Regions from separate parts of the Homo sapiens genome. Here region 2 is linked to region 1. The links are contacts of gene promoters, found by promoter capture Hi-C in blood cells and fetal thymus (Javierre and others, 2016). All regions are on one chromosome and are shown on one strand. Each heading gives the region's core, a stretch centred on a gene start or on the middle of the fragment in contact. The rest is flanking DNA. Distances are from core to core; before and after follow the strand shown. Region 1 holds the start of TMEM151B (transmembrane protein 151B). Region 2 overlaps SPATS1 (spermatogenesis associated serine rich 1).

Evidence for each region. Contacts are between HindIII fragments. The CHiCAGO score rates a contact against its expected background, and 5 or more counts as called.
Region 2: a contact is called between a fragment that was not itself captured here and the fragment with the promoter of TMEM151B in region 1, in 1 of 17 cell types (M2 macrophages). The highest score is 5.1, in M2 macrophages.

The regions. Positions count from the first base shown.
Region 1 is chr6:44,268,197-44,273,448 of GRCh38, reverse strand. TMEM151B (transmembrane protein 151B) reads right to left here and starts at 2,999. Exons shown (of 3, transcript NM_001137560.2): 1 at 2,572-2,999; 2 at 1-383. The coding sequence starts at 2,706. The HindIII fragment of the contact is 13,529 bases long and covers 1-5,252 here.
Region 2 is chr6:44,346,030-44,350,866 of GRCh38, reverse strand. The region is part of intron 2 of SPATS1 (spermatogenesis associated serine rich 1); the gene reads right to left. Among named protein-coding and RNA genes, the nearest start is that of SPATS1, 5.8 kb to the right of the region's middle. The HindIII fragment of the contact is 4,347 bases long and covers 1,029-4,837 here.

The sequences.
Region 1 (5,252 bases), core at 1,750-4,249:
ACATAGTGGTAGCTGATGGCCTTCCACCAGATGCAGGGCGTGGCTTGCTGCATGCGGCCCACACGTTCCCGCACACTGCTCACATCAACACGGTGCTGCAGCTCATGGCGGGCTTGGCAGTGCCAACACTCCACCAGGTAGACGGCGTACAACATGAGCAGGAAGGCCAGGGGGATGTAGACATAGCCGTTGGAGCAGGGGCTGTCATGGTACATGAGGCTGTTGCCCTGGTAGGCGCTGCTGAAGGTGAGGCGCGTCACTGTGGTGACGTGGCACCAGGCCACTGCCCCCAGGCAGCCGTACATGAGCAGCGAGAGCAGGAGGCACTTCCAGTGGGACTCACGGCAGAGGGACTTGGTGAAAGAGGGCTGGATGGGACGCTGCTGCTCAGGTGGGCAGGGAGAGGGGCCAAGATGAGTGGGAAGTGAGAGCAGGCAGGACCCAGCACAGAGATGGATACGGGGATGGAGGGGCAGAGGCCAGCACCAGAGATAACAGGCAGAGAGAAACAGGGATATGGAGAGAAAAGGTGAGACCAAGATGGGAGCCAGGGGCCAGAGGTAGAAACAGAAGTGACACAGAGCAAGCCAGAGGACAGGAAAGGGGACCGGAATGCCAGTACAGGAGAGTGCAGAGAGAGACACCCCAAGAGGCAGAGAAGGATCAGAGCCAGAGATAGAGGCCCAGGCAGCAAACACAGATGGATAGGATGGTACCCAGAGAGCATCCGAAGACAAACACAAAAATGGCAATGAAACAGAAGATGTGGACAGGGAAGACAGGGGAGGACAGACAGACAGGCATCAGCGAAGGAAGGTCCCCAGCCCAGACCCCTTCCAGGTCCTCTAGAAAAGGGGGAGGGACCCACTGACATCACTTCCCCACTTAACAAGTGGGGCCCTCACTTCCAGATTTTTTTCAGTCCTAGGTTCTAGAGGAGCTACTCCCCTCTGACCCATCCACCTCCCTAACCCTCACAATTAGCCTAACACGTCCTTTGGATAAGGGCCTCCAGAGAACCCCAGGCCCAGTCTCATTCCCCATGTTCTGGACCCTGGTTCCCCTGTGAGTCTCCCTCCTGCACCCTGACATCCTTCCCTTTGTCCTAGGATGGGAGGGAGGGGGCTGGGGTCCCTGAGCGGCAGGCAGTCCAGGAGGAGGTATCCAGAAGGGCAGAGGCATGTGGCTGAGGAGAGGACAGGCATAGGGGATGTGGGACTGGGGTAGCGAGGACAACGTTTGAAGCCCAGCAATTTATCAAGAGAAAATTATTTTTGGTACTCTCCTGGAGCCTGTCTGTTAAAGCTCCTGGCACATTCTGTCCCAGGGTTGGCCCAGGAGTTGTTTACATGTCTGGCTCCCCACTACACTGGGTACTCCTGAGGGCCCATGCTTCATTCTCTTTGCATCCTAGGTGCCTACCATGGTGCTGGCCCCCAGCAGCCACATCCTAATTGAGTGTTGAGTTTAATTTCTTGTAGTGGCCTCTGTTTTCCCACCCCTCCTCTGTGCTGTCTAGCTTTAGGAACCCATCCCCCACCACACACACACACACACACACACACACAACCTCCTGCTGGGATCCTGACTTACCCCCTCAATTCCTCAGGCCTGACCTAGAGGCCAGCCAGGAAAGAGAGGAAAAGAGTGGAAAAGAAGGGTACAGTAATAGGCATCGGTCCCTGGATCTAGAAGTATGGATAGTTAGGCGAGCTAGGAAATAGCACACAGTACATGTGGACAAGGAGATTAGGGTACATGTGCCTTTCGGGGAGCCTTGTCCTTAGGAGGTATGAACATACGGGCCCCTTCGTGTGCCTACCTGGTTATGTGCTTGTCCCCATGTGGGTACCTCTGAAAGGGGCTTTACCTGCAGGCCCATCCCCGCTTGTGTGCCTCTGCCCTAGTACAGGGTGCATGCGTGTGCACAAGTGTGCATGGGAGGCTGGAGTGGGGGTGCTCCTGGTACTTTCCTCCGTCTCTTTGTCTTCAGGTTCAGAGGACTGAGTACTAGGGACCCCAACTAGGGATATGAGGAAGCAGCAGGAGCCTCGTGAGAGAGAGGTGCACACCCCCCCCCACACACACACACACACACTCCCAATGACCACAGGCGGGACCCCCCGTACACATCTGACCTCCTTAGGGTCCCAGATCAGGTACCACCACCACTTCCCCATGGTACCCTCCTCGTTCTGTAGCCCGTACAAGCCGCCCTTCCTGGCCTTCAAGGTAGCATCCTCCTCTGTGAGACAGGATCCCCGCCACCGTCCCCACCCCGGTAGAGCATAGCCCCCACTCTCATAAGCCCAGGATCCGCGAGGCTCCGCCCCTAGGCCCCTCCCCCTGCCCGGGACCCCTGAGCCCCGCCCCCGGCGCGGCCCCTTCCCCGGCACCGCGGACAGCTCCGGCCGCCGGGTGGGGGCGGCGGCGCGGACTGCGGCTGCAGCGGCCGGCTCGGGGTGCGGGGCGCCGGCCGCGCTGCGGCGGAACCAGCGGGGGACGCGTGCGATGGGGGATGGGGGGCCAGGCTGCGGCCGCGCCCGGGGAAGGGGCGCCCTAGACTCTCACCTCCTCTCGGGCGGGGCCCTCGTCCGCCGCCGCCGCTGCCGCCGCCGCCGTGAGCTCCTCCGAGACCCCGGGGCCGCCACCGCCGCCGCCGCCGCCGGCGGCGCTCTCTCCCGCGGCCGAGCCAGGGGGGGACATGGCGTAGAGGGGGCGCGTCGAGCTCAGGACCTCCCGGGGGGCTGCCAGGGGCCGGGGGCATCCTGCGCGGGCCCTGGGGAGAGGACGGGAGGGGGCGGGGCCCTCGCTGCTCCCCACCCCCCGCCGGGGGAGGGGGCCCGGAAAGGGCACCGGGAGTAAGGGGCTGGGGGCTGAGGGTGGGAGGCAGGCTGGGGGGCCGGGCCGGGGGGGGCCGGGGCCGGGGGCGGGTGTCACCTTGAGGCCCTCGCGGCGCCGCTCCGCCTCCCGCCCGCTCCCGCCGCCGCCTTTTGTCTGAGCCGAGCTGGAGCCAGCGCGCCCCCCCTTTCCTGCCAGCGCAGCCGAGCCCCGCCCCCAGCCCCCCAAACTCCGCCTTCCCAAGCCTACCTAATAACCACCCCCCGAAGGGGTAAAGCAACAGGGACTCCCCACACCTCTTCCCCGCTCCCAGCCCTGCTCACTGCACCTCCCTCCCGCGCTCCTATCCTGGGAGAATCTGTGCCGCAACCCCTCTCCATCTGTTCTCCGTGGACTCGGTGCCCGAGGTTCAACCAACAGCACCCCCCCACACACACACACATCTCTGGTTCCCCCAAGTTCCCAGGGCAGAGGAGTGGGGAGAGGAAATTGATTCTTGGAACCCTAGGGAAGATCCTTACTCCCAGTTTCGTGGTGAAGGGTTAAGGCAGAAGCTAGACTTCCAGAGGAATGGAATAGGGGGAAAGGGAAGAGATTGAAGCTAGATGTGGGAAAGGACTAACAGAGGGCAGAGGGGAGGGCATTGGAACCGGCCTTCACTGAACCATCTTTCTTCCCTAAAAGAACAGCTCCAGAGAAGCAGTGAAGTGTGTGCAATACCCTAGGCTGGAGGGCAGGAAACCTGAGTTCTAATTCTGAATTCTGTATCTGTCATTAAGGAGTTATGTGACCTTGGGCAAGTGCCTTCCTGTCTCTGAGCCTTAATTTCTTCATCTGTGCAGTGAGGAAGTTGACTGGACAATTTCTAAGGCTCTGACTTGTAGGTGTAGGAAGCAAGCCAGGCTGAGCCACTGCAGGCAGCCTATCCTTTCAGGCCATCCACCCCACACTGCTTTTCCCTGTATCCCCTGGCACAGCAGGAAGGACCCTGACATTTATTCATTCATTCATTTCTGGATGTCTCCATTCAGTAAACAGGTGTTGGGTACCTATTGTGTGCCCAGTACAGAAATGAAACACAGTTTCCTTCCTGCAAGGAGCACAAAGTCTAATGGGGAGAAAAGAACATGAAAAACAACCATTATGAAGAATATAATAAAAGCCATGCATGATCAATCTTGTGCATACACAGTCACTGTGGAATCCTACTATGTGTCATTAGAGTCTTTGACATACAGTAACTGTTCTCCCCAATTACTCACAGGGAACCAAGGCAGAGGGAGAGTGAATGGCTTACTCAAGGTCACCTGCTAGCACTCACAGAGCTAGTCCTAGAATTCAGATCTTTCCCACTCAAAATCTATGGGGAATATTTGTGGGTAGGAAGTTAGTTTGGGGCAAAGCCTCGATGTCTGATTTTGGGGGATAGGGTACAAACACACTGATCTGCCCAGGATGTTCCTTCCCCTTGTTGGGGACAGGAGAGCCACTGCTCCCACCCCTCTAGTCCCACTCCTGGCCCTGCCTTCATTTTACTACTCTTCCCTTTCCAGGTGAGGTGAAGGTGGCTCTCTGTCCACCTATTGCTTAGAGCTATCCAGCCTGCATGGTCCTCTCCAGGTTGATGGGTCCATTCTCCCTGCCCAGAGGAAGGCGGCTGTCCAGAAGAGGCGGGGGTCTGGTTCACTCCCTTGGCAGAGGCAGAATCTCACTTGGTGGTTCATTCCAGCATCTCCTGCCCATGCTTTTTGGGAAGCTGGCCTCACAGCTAACTCCAGCCCCTCTTGTTCCAGTTTCAACCCCTTCCCCCACAGAGAGCAGAGCCCCTAACCTTGGCCTTTCCAAACCCACAGAGGATCCTTTCGTGCTCCCCATTTAGGCACCATAATCTTCCTCTTGACACCCACCCCCACTGCCTTCCTGTCTCCACTTCAAAGGGCTTTGGAGGAGGGACAGTTTAGCTCTTTTTGGCCAATGCTAGAGCTCCCAAGAGACAAAAGGCTACCCCTGCCTTCTCCATTCACACACAGTACCCTTCCCTGGAAGCTACAAGAAAGGGGGGTGAAGGAGGGGGCGGTGGAAGGAGCCAGCTGACCGGCTGGTCACCATGGAAACCAGGCCTGTTTCCTGAAGATGAGCCTAGCTGGGGTGGGTGGAGGTGGGGAGTGGGGGCACAAAGGGAACCAGAAAACAACAGAGAGAAAGACGAGGGGCCCAGCCTCAGAGAAGACTGGAGCTGAGGAGGCGAGGTCAGGTCCCTAGCCATGCTGTGGCCTAAGTCAAAGTCCCCAGGTCACCCTTTCAGATAACACTGCAATGGTCCCCCTCCCCATTCCTGGAGTGTTGGAAAGGATTCCTGTCAAGAGTGCAAGCTCTGGTAGTGGGGCCAGTGGGTGACTCAATGCTGACCT
Region 2 (4,837 bases), core at 1,953-4,452, 77 kb before region 1:
CAGGTGTAAGCCACGACACCCAGACTTGTTGTTTCCTTTTTGAATATTTACTATGGGCAGTTGGTCGAATCTGCCAATGCAGAACCCGTTGATATGACTGTATAGTGTAAACTATGCAAATTCCCACCATCTATCAGCAGGACTGCTACTCAGAGAATTTTTTATTCATTTCCTCTCAAATTCATATCACAAGTGAATAATACCTTTTCCATTCTTATCAAGTCCCGATCTATCACCAAACCTTTCACTCCTAAGAGGACTTTGCCTGTTACTCTACAAAGCTTAAAGTTCAGCTGAGCTACTCCCTCCCTTCAAAATCCTCCCACTCTGGGGCTTCTCAGGACATGGCGCAAGGCCTATCTGCATCAGAATTACCCAGGAAGCCTGTTAAAAATACAGATTCTCAAATTCCATCGCAGACCTATTGAATTAGAATCTCTCCAAGTGAGGCCTGGGAACCTGCATTTTAAATAAGCCCCCACCCTCACCCCTGCTCTTCATTTAGGCTCACGTTTGGCAGTAATCTCCTTCTTGAAGTCTAGTTCCATCACTGCACTGTATTTTATCCAGTTCCACTTCCAGATTCCCAACTGCACAGAACTTCCTGAATTTGCCCAGTCACGAGAATCCCCTTGGGGTACTTGTTCAATATGCAGGCCCCAGGGCTCTGACTCAGACCTACAGTCTGGGAGCCAGGATATTTAAGAAGCACCTCAGGTGATTCTTAGGGTCAGCCAAGTGTGGGAAGTGCTGCTCTGGAATATGCCCTAGAGCCTAGAGCAGCCCCCAGCACAGTGAGGTCCAACTGGTTGCTTGAGGTGTAACTGGGATGGAGTCAAGCCCAGGGGAGGTGGCAGGCAAGCAGCAGGTGAGGATGAGGAGACGGGTCCCCAGTAACCAAAGGAAGAACCACCCATATACCAAGCCACAAAACAAGTATCAACAATACATAGACCACACTCTCTGACCACAATGCAATACAATTAGAAATCAATAATAAAAAGACAGCCAAAAAGTATCCATAAGCTTGGAAACTCAAACCACACTTCTAAATAATTCACATACAAGAAGAAATTGTAATGGAAATCATGAGTTGCTTAATGATCAATGAACATTGAGTACTATATATCAAAACTTGTGGGATTCAACTAAAGCAGTAATTAGAAATCTGGGGCCTTGAATGCATATGCTGTATTTCACTGAATATAAGGCACCATCAATTGTAATAGCATCGTTATTTTATGTATCACAAAGAACAAAGGCTGCCAATTAAAGTATGATACATGCTTTTATCACTTAGAATTTTTATTTTATACTTATTGATGCATTCTTTTAATTTATTTATAGATTTTAATCACATATCACTCATGCACATATATAAAGAAGGAAAATATAAGCACAATAGACTGGTTAAGGCATTCCTAAATCTTATGCACATTCAGAAATCTGACTACTAAACCACTTTCAACTCAATCACTATTGTCCACACTTTCCACCTAATACTGACCTAATATTTCAATAAAAATGTGAGTTGAGTGATGCAGCATTTCTTTCTTTTTTTTTTTTTTTTTTTTTTTTGAGCCAGAGTCGCCCAGGCTGGAGTGCAATGGCATAATCTCGGCTCACTGCAACCTCCAACTCCAGGGTTCAAGCAATTCTCCTGCCTCAGCCTCCCGAGTAGCTGGGATTACAGGTGCATGCCACCACACCCAGCTTATTTATTTATTCATTTCTTGGAGACAGAGTCTCGCTCTGTCCCCCCGGCTGGAGTGCAGTAGTGCAATCTCAGCTCACTGCAACCTCCGCCTCTTGGGTTCAAGCGATTCTCCTGTCTCAGCCTCCCGAGTAGCTGGGATTACAGGTGCCCACCATCATGCCTGGCTAATTTTTGTATTTTTAGTAGAGACGGGGTTTCACCATGTTGGCCAAGCTGGTCTCAAACGCCACACCTCAGGTCACCCACCCATCTCAGCCTCCCAAAGTGCTGGGATTACAGGCGCAGTGGCGCCAGGACCAATTTTTGTATTTTTAGTAGAGATGAGGTTTCAACATATTGGCCAGGCTGGTCTCTTAGCCAGGCTGGTCTCGAACTCCTGACCTCATGATCTGCCTGCCTTGGCCTCCCAAAGTGCTGGTATTACAGGCGTGAGCCACCGCGCAAAAGTGCTTCTCTACTGTCTCTGGAGTTTTTTCCAAGCTATGAACACACGTTCTACATGCTTCAGTGCTCATACAGCAAAAATTATTACAACTACATCCTACCTGCTGCTGGGCCCACAGACCTGGTAACATCCAGTCCCTACTTCAAAGATGCAAACTGTCTATCCAAGAATTGATGGATTATAGTGTTCAAAATCAAAAATTCCAAAATGAATGAGCCAAGTTGTCAATTTAAGAAATAAGAAAAAAAAAAGAGTAACCCCTCTCCCCCCGAAAAGATTTTAAGGAATAAAATCATAAAAGCAGAAATGAATGAAATAAAGATTATCAGAACTATGGCTTCATGCAAAAGCTGATAATGCAGATAAACAAGGTTCAAGAAAAAATTTTAAACACAAATAAATAATATTAGAGCCTGGACTGTAATCCCAGCACTTTGGGAGGCCAAGGCAGGTGGATCACCTGAGGTCAGGAGTTCAAGACTGCCTGGCCCAACATGGTGAAACTCCGTCTCTACCAAAAATACAAAAATCAGCCGGGCATGGTGGTGCACGCCTGTAATCCCCGTTACTCAGGAGGCTGAGGCAGGAGAATCGCTTGATCCCAGGAGGCGGGGGTTACAGTGACCTGAGATCATGCCACACTGCACTACAGCCTGAGCAACAGAGTGAGACTCCATCCCAAAAAAAAAACAAAAATAATAATAATAATAGAAATGAAACAAGGCCATAATTATAAATAAAATAGAGATAAATTTACAGATAAAGAAATTAAGCTCCAGAAATGTCAAATAACTTGTTCAGGGTTACATAGCCATGGAGTATAATTTATAAAATGTAGTCTAATGTTCAAATAATCAAGACAGTACTGACAAAAACCCTAACAGACAAATCAATAGAACAAAATAGTAAACATAAATAGAATAAAATTGTATATGAAAACAAGTGGCATTTTATCTTGGTGAAGAAAGGATGGGTTATTCAAAAAATATTGCTGGAACAACTAATTAACCATTTGGAATAAAAATAAAATTAATCCTTTCTTATCCCAAACTGGAAAATCCAGATGACTCACAGATTTGAATGTAAAAATTGAAATTAAAGATGTACCCGAAAAAAGTAAGTGAAAGTTTATATAATCTTAGAGTGAAGAAGTTATTGCCAAGAAGATACCAAATACAGGCAAAATAAAGGAAAAGAGGCATAGATTTGAATATGCCTCTTTAAATATAAACTTAAAACTTTCATAGCAAACTATAAACTGGGGGAAAATCTATAACAACATGATAGAAAGAAAAAAGAGTGAGTAGTCATGACAAATTATGAGCTTTTTTTTTATACTTTAAGTTCTGAGGTACATGTGTAAAACGTACAGGTTTGTTACATAGTTATACACATGCCACGGTAGTTTGCTGCACCCATCAACCCGTCGTCTACATTAGGTATTTCTCCTAATGCTATCCTTCTCCCCTCCCCCAACCCCACGACAGGCCCCAGTGTGTGATATTCCCCTCCCTGTGTCCATGTGTTCTCATTGTTCAACTCCCACTTATAAGTAAGAACATGCAGTGTTTGGTTTTCCATTTTTGCGTTAGTTTGGTGAGAATGAGGGTTTCCAGCTTCATCTATGTCCCTGCAAAGGACATGAACTCATCCTTTTTTATGGCTGCATAGTATTCCATGGTGTATATGTGCCACGTTTTCTCTATCCAGTCTATCATTGATGGACATTTGGGTTGGTTCCAAGTCTTTGCTATGTGAACAGTGCCGCAATAAACATACGTGTACATGTGTCTTTACAGTAGAATGATTTATAATCCTTTGGGTACATACCCAGTAATGGGATTGCTGGGTCAAATGGTATTTCTAGTTCTAGATCCTTGAGGAATTGCCACACTGTCTTCCACAATGGTTGAACTAATTTACACTCCTTGAGCTTTTATAAATTTATAAGATGAAAATAAATATCCAAAAAGAAAAAAAAAGGGCAAAAGATGTGATCAGGTAACTTATTTTTAAAAACAGGCTGGACAAGGTGGCTTATGCCTGCAATCTCAGCACTTCGGGAGGCTGCGGCAGGTAGACTGCTTGAAGCTAGGAGTTCAAGACCAGCCTAGGCAACATATGGAGACCTGGTCTCTACAAAAAACTAAAAAGTTAGCTGGGCGTGGTGTTGCACACCTGTGGTCCCAGCTACTTGAGAGGCTGACATGAGGACTGCTTGAGCTGGAGAGGTCGAGTCTGCAGTGAGCCCTGATCATACCACTGCACTCCAACCTGGGTGACAGAGTGAGACCCCATCTCAGAATAAGATAAAATAAAATAACACATACATATAGCCAATATGTATTTGGGGGAAATTTCATCCATCCTAATAATTGGGTTTGGGGGAGTGGGTGGTTATTTTGTGGGTTTGTTTTTTTTTTTGAGACAGGGTCTTGTTCTGTCACCCAGGCTGGAGTGATCTCGGTTCACTGCAACCTCTGCCCCTAGGACTCAAGTGATGCTCCCACCCCAGCCTCCCAAGTAGCTGGGACCATGGGCACACACCAGCATGTCCAGCTATTTTTTTGTTGTTGTTGTATTTTTTGTAGAGATGGGGTCTCACCATGTTGCCCAGGCTGCTCTCAAACTCCTGAGCTCAAGTGATCCACCCACCTCAAAAGTGCTGGGATTAC